Linked DNA regions of Homo sapiens: regions 1 and 2 are each linked to region 3. The links are contacts of gene promoters, found by promoter capture Hi-C in blood cells and fetal thymus (Javierre and others, 2016). All regions are on one chromosome and are shown on one strand. The core of a region is centred on a gene start or on the middle of the fragment in contact, and the rest is flanking DNA. Distances in the headings are between cores, read along the strand shown.

The links. The method cuts DNA at HindIII sites, captures the fragments that hold promoters and counts their contacts. A CHiCAGO score of 5 or more calls a contact.
Region 1: a contact is called between a fragment that was not itself captured here and the fragment with the promoter of DCHS1 in region 3, in 9 of 17 cell types (non-activated CD4 T cells, total CD8 T cells, total CD4 T cells and 6 more). The highest score is 8.6, in non-activated CD4 T cells.
Region 2: a contact is called between a fragment that was not itself captured here and the fragment with the promoter of DCHS1 in region 3, in 1 of 17 cell types (fetal thymus). The highest score is 6.6, in fetal thymus.

What each region holds. Positions count from the first base shown.
Region 1 is chr11:6,372,705-6,376,297 of GRCh38, reverse strand. No RefSeq gene overlaps it. Among named protein-coding and RNA genes, the nearest start is that of SMPD1, 16 kb to the left of the region's middle. The HindIII fragment of the contact is 3,799 bases long and covers 174-3,593 here.
Region 2 is chr11:6,216,287-6,219,756 of GRCh38, reverse strand. FHIP1B (FHF complex subunit HOOK interacting protein 1B) reads left to right here. Exons shown (of 12, transcript NM_001098794.2): 7 at 707-786; 8 at 994-1,157; 9 at 1,607-2,386. Among named protein-coding and RNA genes, the nearest start is that of C11orf42, 12 kb to the right of the region's middle. The HindIII fragment of the contact is 4,493 bases long and covers 1-3,470 here.
Region 3 is chr11:6,653,632-6,657,102 of GRCh38, reverse strand. It overlaps DCHS1 (dachsous cadherin-related 1), which reads left to right and starts at 1,294. Exons shown (of 21, transcript NM_003737.4): 1 at 1,294-1,540. The HindIII fragment of the contact is 4,247 bases long and covers 1-3,471 here.

The DNA.
Region 1 (3,593 bases), core at 824-3,323, 280 kb after region 3:
CAGACTGTACTACCATAGAAGATGGGAGAATGGCTATTAGAGGACAAAGACAGTCTTAGCCATACTCTTTCTTTCTGACATTTTCAACCTCTCCTGCTCAATTTGAAAATCCAATCAAGATTCTATCTTTAAAAGTCAAAATGAGGTAAATCAACACAAAACAAATGCAAGCTTCTTTCTAGACCTAACCCAGTATCCTTCACTATCGGTGTTTCTCTGCTCTGTTTAACAGAACATATCTCAAAAGAACGTCCTGCACATGCTATTCCCATTTCCTTGCATTTTGACCACCACGAATCTATTAAAATGGCTAAGGCACCTCGTGACCTCCACATAAACATATCTAAGGGGCCCTTTTCAGTCTCTGTCTTCTCGACCTCTCAGCAGAATGGGATGCATTTGATTGTTCTCATTATCTTTGACACTTTCTTCTCTTGGCTTCTCCGACACCTCAGTCTTAGCTTTTAGATTGTTAAAGCAAACTAAATATGGCCTGAGAAGGACTCCATACTTCTATATTTGAGTCCTTGTAGACAAATCGTAACATAGCTTAATAGGCAGACAAGATTGAAAACCTAATTTAAGACTATACACCTGTAATGATAGCTGTGTCTTGGCCAATCCCAGCAGCCATACTTCAACCACTCACAGACTGCTGAGTGTTCAAACTGTGTTCAAATAAGGCAAAGGCCAACCTGTAACCCATCCAGCTGTTTCTGTACCTCACTTTTTTTTTTTTTTTTTTTTTGAGACAGAGTCTCAGTCTGTTCCCCAGGCTGGAGTGCAGTGGCGCGATCTTGGCTCACTGCAAACTCTACCACCCAGGTTCATGCCATTCTCCTGCCTCAGCCTCCCGAGTAGCTGGGACTAAAGGTGCCCGCCACCATGCCCGGCTAATTTTTTGTATTTTTAGTAGAGACGGGGTTTCACCGTGTTAGTCGGGATGGTCTCGATCTCCTGACCTCGTGATCCGACCGCCTTGGCCTCCCAAAGTGCTGGGATTACAGGCAGTGAGCTCACTACGTGAGCCGACTTCTGGTTTTTGTATATTACTTTACTTTTTTTATTTATAAATCTGTTCTGACCATGAGGAACCGCTGGAGTCTCTCTGAATCTGCTGTGATTCTAGGGGCTGCCTGATTCATGAATCGTTCATTGCTCAATTAAACTCTTTTAAATTTAATTTGGCTGAAGTTTTTCTTTCAACAAGATAAATTTGTCACTAATGAGAGTGTTAATTTTTTTCCAGTTTGATTTTCTGTCTTTTGCATTTTGCTTATGGTGGGTTTTGTAATGTGGAATTTTTATTTTATATTGTCAAAATCTTGACCTTTCCTTTTATGGGTTATGTGTTATGTCATACCTAGAAAGACCTTCTATGCTCCAAGAGAAAAATCCTGTGCTTTCTTCTTCTACTTCTTCTTCTTCTTCTTTTTTTTTTTTTTTTAATTGAGACAGGGTCTCACTTTCTCACCCAGGCTGGAGTGTGGTGGCATGATCTCGGCTCACTGCAACCTCAGGTTCCCAGGTTCAAGTGATTCCCTTGTCTCAGCCTCCCAAGTAGCTGGGACTATGGGCATGGGCTACCATGTCCTACTAATTTTTGTATTTTTAGTAGAGATGGGGTTTTGCCATGTTGCCCAGGCTGTTCTTGAATGCCTAAGCTCAGGCAATTCGCCCACCTTGGCCTCCCAAAGTGCTAGGATTACAGGCATGAGCCACAGCGTTCGGCTGACTGTGCTTTCTTCTTCTGAAGAAAAGAAATAGAAATTGTGGCTCACATGGATCTTCATTCGGACTTGAGGTGTCTCACTGGGAAGCCCTGCTGGCCCCAGCTGGTTCCAAGCATCAGAGACTTAGAAAATGTTGCAGAAGTCACTCCAGAGCAGGGATCCGCTCAGAGGTGGGGCTGGGCAGAAGCCCTGTTTGAAAGGTCTAACGGCCATACTGGAATGTGGGAATTAACTTTTTTTTTTTTTTTTGAGATGGAGTTATGCTCTAATTGCCCAGGCTGGAGTACAGTGGCAGGATCTCGGCTCACCGCAACCTCTGCCTCCTGGGTTCAAGCGATTCTCCTGCCTCAGCCTCCCGAGTAGCTGGGGATTACAGGCATGCACCACTGTGCCTGGCTAATTTTGTATTTTTAGTAGAGACGGGGTTTCTCCATGTTGGTCAGGCTGGTCTCGAACTCCCAACCTCAGGTGATCCACCTGCCTTGGCCTCCCAAGGTGCTGGGTTTACAGGCTTGAGCCACCATGCCTGGCCAGGGATTGACTTTTTTTTTTAATTTTAAATTATTATTATTGTTTTTTGAGACAGGGTCTGGCTCTCTGTTGCCCAGGCTGGAGTGCAGTGGCACCATCTTGGCTCACTGCAACCTCTACCACCCAGGCTCAAGCCATCCTCCCTCCTCAGCCTCCCATGTAGCTGGGATTACAGGCATGCGCCACCATGCCCAGATAATTTTTGTGTTTTTTTTTATAGAAACAGGGCTTCACCACATTGCCCAGGCTGGTCTTGAACTTCTGAGTTCAAATGATCTGCCTGCCTTGGCCTCCTAAGGTGCTGGGATTACAGATGTGAGCTACCACACCCAGCTGCAATTCACTTTTGACCAAGAGAAAAAACTTAAGAGGAATCCAGTTGTCCATAAAGTGACAAGGAATATTTGCTGCATATTTGAGGATCTTTTGATCAACTTAATACAGAACCTGGCATCTTTACGTCTCCTTAGGGCCAGATGATCATAGCCACTCCCAGCCTCAGATACTTTTAATATGTTGATGAGCTTCTGAGCTCAGACATCTCTAACTTAACTATGTCCAAAATGGAGCTTTTGATCTTTCATTCTGATTTTGACACTGCTCCAGTCTTTCCTATCTAGGGATGGGCACCTCAGCATACCGGACACTTGGAGTCATTAAAACAATTTTTTAAAATTTTTAAATTCTTTTTCTTTAAACAATTTTTTTTTTTTTTTTAAAGATAGGGTCTTGCTGTCTTTCCCAGGCTGGTCTCAAACTCCTGGGCACAAGGGATCCACCTGCCTCAGCCTCCTGTGTAGCTAGGACTACAGGCATACACCACTGTGCCCAGCTCTTGGAGTCATCTTTGACACTTCATCTCCCTTTACCTCTACATTTTATTAATTATCAAGTCATGTCTATTTCTCCTCTAAAACCCAACCTAAGTCTTACCTCTGATCACCTCTGTAGCTACTGTCTTAGCCTAAGTTACTACCATCTCTATCTTAGATTGCTACAAGTTATCCTAACTGGTTTTCCCTGATTTCACCATTGCCCCCAAGTCGATTTCCCATAGCCCACTCCTCTCTTTTGAAATTGTATATCAGATTGTTTCATTCCCCTGATGAAAATTAATTAATTCAACAAATTAGTATAGAGATCTACAGTGTGCCAGGCACTGTTCAGGTATTGGGGGATACATTAGTGATGGGGATACATCGATGTTTTGAAACTAAGCATTCAAAAATCCCTGCTGTCATAGAGTTTACAAAAAAGCAAATAGTGCCATGAAGGAAAATTAAGAATGAAAGGGGTTGGGGAGAGCTGGGGTGGGTGTGCAATTTGAAG
Region 2 (3,470 bases), core at 180-2,679, 440 kb after region 3:
AGTGCTAGGAAGATTCAGAGAAGTGAGGGAAAGGTTACATATGTGTTTTCTTTACCTAGTCAGAGATGAACCAACCTTCTTCCTTTTCTAAAATAAAAGATTTCCTCTAATCTTGACCCACCTACTTTTTCCTTTTCCTGTCAGCTGCGCTTGAGTTGTTCTTTATCCTGCCTTCTGAGAGATACACTAGTGTTAGAGAGGTGACTCAGACTTCATGTTTGCAGCCCCACCTACTTCCCAGTTGGGAATCTTCCCGGTTCCCTCTAGTTTCTTATTGGTAGGCATTCAGTTACTGTATTGCTACAGTCCCTTCTGGCAGGCATTCACTTAATTACCATGTTTCTGTTGTCTCCTGTTAGTCATTCACTCAATCACAGTATTTCTTAGTCTCTTCTCATGGATTTTCGTTCAAGTGTTGCTGGAGTCTCTGCTGACCAGGTATATATAGCTAGAGAGTCTATAGAAGTCCATTGGGTCTGAGATGCTTCATTTGTATGAATAGCAAAGTCTTGCTCGCAAAGATCGTGTGATCATCTAGCTAATACTTGAATGACTTATGTGCCAGGCATGGTACATGGTCCTCTAGGAGTTCCTCTAGGAGTGGTTGGTTGGGCCAACTTGGGGCTGGTGGGGTTCCCGTTTGGTGAATGGCTTGGAGGGCAGAGAGCTCTTATGGTGACTCCCTCCCTCCCCTCCACCCCCCCAGCTCTGCATGGTCTCTCTGAGTCTCTTCAGGACCCTCCTGAACCTCAGCTGTGAGGATGTCCTGCTGCAGCTGGTTCTCAGGTATCTGTTGGGGCAGGGCTGAGGGATGGCTGACCCTGAAGCCTCAGAGTCTTATGCATTGCTGGGGCAATGGGCTATATAGGGGTTACTCATGAGTTTCCACTTGGAGCCTGGCTTAACCATGCAGTTTCATTGGCCTGATGTTCCTCTAGGCCCTGTCCTTCCTTCCTGATCTACCCTGTGTCCCCTTTCTGATGTCTTTCTCAGGTATCTTGTTCCATGTAACCACGTTATGCTGAGCCAGAAGCCGGCTGTTCGTGATGTGGACCTATATGGACGAGCAGCTGACAAGTTTCTCTCCCTAATCCCACGCTGTTGTCGGCACCACGCCCCCAGCCCACCTCGTCCAGAGCATGCCTCATGGGCACGAGGTGGGCCTAGCAGAGAGACAGGGAGAAGGGAGGACATCACGGGTATGGCCTAGGTTCTGGGGGAGCGTAGCAAGGAGGGGCTGGGGTGAAGGGGAGGAAGGTGTCCATGAATGATAGTCTGTCTTTGGGGAGGTTGATGAGGGTGTCTTGCAGGGAGGACCCTTAACACTCACCAAAGAAAATTAGAGTGGGACTTCTGGGCAAAGCTATTCTTGTTCTTCTCTCTAGTCGTGTACTCTTCCTGTTTCCATTGTGTCTTCAGTGGTGATGGTGGTGAGTGGGGGTGGTGGATGAGGATAAGGTTAATTAGGAGGTTGGAGAGTTAGCTGTCTGAATAGATTCCATGTTTCTGCCTCCCCATTGTCTTCTTTCTTAGTCTCCCGAGGTGTCTTATCTCTCCTTCTGAACCTCTGTCTCCTTGATTTCTCTTATATTTTTTCCCTTTGCAGGTCCTGGAAGCCCAAGTGTGGACTCCTCTTCTGTGACGACAGTACCCCGGCCCTCCACACCATCTCGTCTGGCTCTCTTCCTGCGGCAGCAGAGCCTGGGTGGCTCTGAGTCTCCAGGCCCAGCCCCTTGCTCACCAGGGCTTTCTGCATCCCCCGCCTCCAGCCCTGGCCGACGGCCTACCCCTGCAGAGGAGCCTGGAGAGCTGGAAGACAATTACCTGGAGTATCTGCGTGAGGCACGTCGTGGTGTGGACCGCTGTGTCCGAGCCTGCCGTACCTGGTCTGCCCCCTATGATGGCGAGCGGCCCTCTCCTGAGCCCAGTCCTTTTGGCTCCCGGACTAAGAAACGCAGCCTACTGCCTGAGGAGGACAGGAACAACGTGGGGGAAGGGGAGGAGGAAGAGCTGGGGAGGAGGGGGCGGGCTGGGGGTGCAGGGGAGGGCCCTGGTCACCTGCCCCCTCCCCAGCTCAATGGAGTGCCAGGATCATGGCCTGAGGGGGCCAAGAAGGTTCGTCTGGTGCCAAAGGAGGGAGCTGGGGAACTGCTAGAGGGCATCTCCGAGGGCATGGCAGGACTAGAGGGCTTTGGGCAGGAGCTCCGGGAGCTAGAGGTGGCATTGAGCAATGGGGGAACTGGCTCAGAGTCCCCCTTAGAACCTCCACTGCCCCTTGAGGAGGAGGAGGCCTACGAGAGCTTCACCTGTCCCCCTGAGCCCCCTGGCCCCTTCCTCAGCAGCCCTTTGCGGACTCTCAACCAGCTGCCAAGCCAGCCCTTCACTGGTAAGCTACTTAGCCTAGGCCTTCCCTTCTGTGTACTCTTTGCATGTTCTCGACATGTTTGTGCTGGTTTCTTGGACCTCTTGGCCATGTCATTTCTGTGTACTTGCCTAGCCCCTCATCCATCCTGCTTGCATCACTTCCAGATACGTGTCATGTCATACTTGTGTCCCTGTGTCTGTCTGTACGTCTTCCATGCTTGTGCTGGTTTGAGTATTGACTTACATCTGAGCCTTGTATGTATGTCCTATGTGCATGTTCCTCCTCTTTCCCTAGTCTGGCCATTTCCTGCGATTTGTAATTAGGATATTCTGTGTTTGATGTTTCCTGGTGAATCACAGCAATATTTCTGAACCATATTGAAGACGTATGTGCTGTCCTGTATGGAGAGGCACCTAAACACTCTCTATGCCATTCCGTCCAGTTTATCTGTCTGGGTCTTGGGTTTTCTGTCAGCTCTCCTGGGGCCTAAGGTTAACCTTCTGGTATTTTTCTCCCTACTCAGCTCCTTCCTCCCCACCTCTTCAAAGAAGGACTTGATTTCAAGTTTTTCCTGTTCGCTTTCCTTGTACCTTCTTGGTTGCTGTGACTGTCTGCTAGCACTAAGACTGTCTTAAGCAGATAGAGTGCAATTTCTTTGAAGGCAAATGACAAAGCGTGGCCCTGAGCTCCCTGACTGAGTTCATTTGGACTCTCAAGGATGCCCTGGAGCTAGACTCGATCTGAGTGGTTGGACTAACTCCTCTTTGTTTTTGTATGAGAGCCAGCTTACCCCGCCATTCTAAACCTCAGGCCAGGAAAACCAAAAAACAAAAAAACCAACCAAACAAAAAACAAACCCACCTCTGAGAAGTAGTAGCTAAGGCTAAGATCACAGGCCTTGGATTAGGCATACCTTACATTAGCCTCCCATCTCTGCCATAGATGCATATAAATCATTTACTACAATTATGGCACATTGTGAGAACTCAGCAAGTGGTAGCTTTTCACTAGGATCTCTGGGTACATAGCAGATTTAAGTTGACTAAGGCAAACACTCATCTTCCAGTTGTTCATAGTCAGATTGTCATGCCTTGATAAGTTCATG
Region 3 (3,471 bases), core at 45-2,544:
CATCCACCCAGCTGCCCAAGCGCCGTGGATATGATCAAGGACCCCAGTCTCTCCCTCACTCCTCTTCCAAAATCACACTCCCTTCTTCTTCAGCTGAAACTGTGTTCCTTCTCCACAGAAGTTCCTGATTTCTTTGTGCCATTTGTACACATCTCAAGTCCAGAAAACCTGTTTTTCTCACAGTCTACTCGCAGTCCTAAGGAAGAAGGACAGGAGTCAGAACTCTTCCCAGTTCCTTTAAGATTGCTTGCTCTTTGTCTCTGTCTGATTTCCCCTCTCCCCATATTCTCTCCCAAGTTGGTTTTTTGAGCCCCTTCCCACTTCCCTGCCCGGTTTCCTCCTCACTTAATTTTTCTAGGGAGTATATCGTGAGTGGGACCACCATCCCCAAAGCTCTTCTTTCCAATATCTCCCGATCTCTACCCTCAAATTTGGGATAAAGAGAAAGTGGGGGAAAGGGAGCCTGGGGGTGAAGGAGAGAAAAGAGACAGAAATCATGGGATAATGAAAAGTGACTAACAGGGGAGAAGGCCGAGGTTACGATGGAAGAAGGGGAAGAGACAGCGGGTAGTGAAAAGGGCAGGGGTGAGAAAAGGGAATGAGGAGAAGGCGTGAGGAAAAGGGGATGATGAGGTGAGGCGAAAGACACAGGGAGAAGGGGATGGGGAGAAAGGTGGGGAGAAGAGACGGGGAGAAAGGGATAGGAAGAAAAGGATAAAAGGAGAGGTGGGGAAGGAGAATCTGATGTAAAGAGGCTGGAGAGAGATCAAGCAGAAGGGGTAAGGAGAAGAGAAAGGGGAGAAGAGCTGGGGAGAAAATGATGGAGATGGGGCGAGAAGAAGAGGATGGGAGAAAGGCAGAGGGGAATGGAGATGACGGTTGGGAAAAAGAAGGGGCGAGAGGGAGACCAGGGCACTGAGGGAGAAGAGGGGAATAGGGGATGGAAAGAAGATGGAAGAGGAGGAGGTGAGCAGCAGGGAGCGGCGAGAAGGGGAAGAGACGAGAGGGCGTAGAGAACCGAATGGGAGGAGAGGACGGGAGAAGTGACGGGGAGAAGGGAAGGGAACCGGGACGGGGGCGCGGCGCGGCGCTGGGGCCGGATCCGGAGCCGGGGCCTGGGGCCGGGAAGTGGAGGGGCGGAGGGAGGCCGGGCGGGCGCCGGGGGGAAGGGGGGGCGGCGGCGCGGAGCGCGGGTGGGGGCGGGGGCGGGGGCTCCGCGGGCGGAGGGGCGGGGGCTCGGGTTACCGCGCGGAGGGCGGGGGGAGGGGAGGGGAGGGGGCGCGGGGCCGCGGCAGCGGAGCTCGCATCCTCGGCGGGGCGGCTGTGCAGGAGGCGGCGCCCGGGCGTCAGCGGACGGACCGATCGACGGCCAAGGGCGCGCGGACCGACGGCGGCTGCCCGGAGGGGATCGCGGGCCTCGGAGACAGCGACTGCGGACGATGCGCGGCCTCAGGCCCCGCGCGAGCGGGCGCTGCCCGGGGGGCTGACCGCGGCCGGACGGCGCCCCAGCACCGGGCGAGGGAGCCCGCGTCGCGCGGAGGTCAGTGCCCGCGCCCGCCCGGCCCGTCTGGCCGCGCCCGCCCTGCCCGCCGGCCTCCCCTGGGCTGCGGCAGCGGCGGCGGAGCCGGGGGCTTTGTTCTGAGCCGGAGACAATGGGGGAGGGGGGGCCTGGGCCTGCGGGACCCGGGCGGGCGTGAACGTGAGCGTGGGGGCAGGGCCTGGGGGTCTTTGTGTGCGTGTGTCATCGAGTCGGGGAGGGTGGCGGCGGGAGCGTGCGCCGGGGGTGTGGGGTGCGACAGCGTTGTGTTCCAGTGCATCGTCGGAGTGTGTCAGTGCGTGTCACTGGGAGGTTGTGTGTCCCTGGGCGTCTCTCTGGCTGTGTGTGCATGTGCGTGTCACTCTGAGGGTGTGAGGGTCAGAATGACCGTGTGTCATGGTGAGCGAGTCCCTGTGAGGGTGTGTTGCCCGCTCTGTGGGAGCCCATGTGTCAGAATGTGGAGGATGGGTGTGTGACAGAGACCAACTGAGACAGAGACAAAGAAACTGAGTGGGGAGAAGTACAGAGAAGCAGAGGAGAGGCAGGCACAGCCTGAAGTGGATGGAGGGGGGGGTCACCCAGACGTGTTCTGAGTGGGAGATTGGAGCAACTGGGAGTTTGTGTCTGGGATACCCAGCTCAGAATCCCGTGCAGGGGACAGAGCAAGGTCACCGCAGGCGTGGGTCCCACGTGGAGGGGGTGGGGAGAGGGAGGTCTAGAAGCACAATGAACTCAGTGTGGCGGGCTGGGCCCACAGCCACAAGGTCATAGGCCAGAAAAATATTGTCGCTTATGTCAACTTCTCAAATACCCATAGGGACACAGTCATAGCCCTACTCAACCCACAAGAGGACACAGTCCCAGGGAACACACATCCTCAAGAGATACCCTCACAGCCATCATACACTTCCAGGAAGCCCACCCCCAGGAAGCACCCCCAGTCAGAACCAACACACACCTACAGCAGACTCTATCAAGCCAACACACACCTACGGAAAATGCTCTCATGACAACACACACCCACAGGAGAAATGCTGCAACCAACATACTCCCACCGGTTCATTGTCAAGGCCAACACATACCATGGAAGACATTGTTACTGCTAACACTCTCCAGAAACACTGTCACCAGCAACAAACAAGTAGACCAGCACCTCTCAGGAGACATTGTCACTGCAATCCACATCCATCAGAAGCACTGTCACAACTGTCACAGCACATCTTATTAGGTTTACTTCCTTGGAGCTGCCCATACATAGTGGGTGTCCTAGAAGCCTGTCACTAACAGGAGGCTGTGCCACAGTTGCCCTTACCACACAGCCACTTGTACAACCCCCAGGAGACAGTCATGGATGGCATGCACACCACAGGAAGACCTGTCCCAACTTCTGAATAAACTCTGCTTAACTTATCAAGCTCACACCTTCACCCCTTCTCATACGTAGATCTCCCAGGTATACCCTCTTGTTCCCTGAAAACTTCGAGATCTGGATAGTGTATCCTGCCATGGTTTCTCAGTGTCCTTCAACACCACAGCTTCACAGATTCTTGACCTCCTTAGCTCCTGTTACCTTCCTCCCTCCCAGGACCACTCTGTAGAACTATTCCACCTTTAAAATTCTAAACTCTTGCATTCCTCTCTCTACCCACAACCTCCTATATCCTTCCAGCTTTCAGATGTTCTCGCTCCCATTACACTCTTTGACCTCATAATGACCTCTTGCCCTTGACCTCTTTGTTTTCTCCTACTCTGTTCCTTTCTGACTTTGTGCTTTCTTTCCAGCTCATATGCTAAGGATCATCCCTTCAACCACTCCTTGGCCACTGTGTTTCCTTGTCTTCTATACTCATCCCTCAAATTATTGCCCCTAACTAGAATGATTTCTCAACCACACCAGGGGACGCTTCTATAAATTCATACTTCTAAAAAATTCA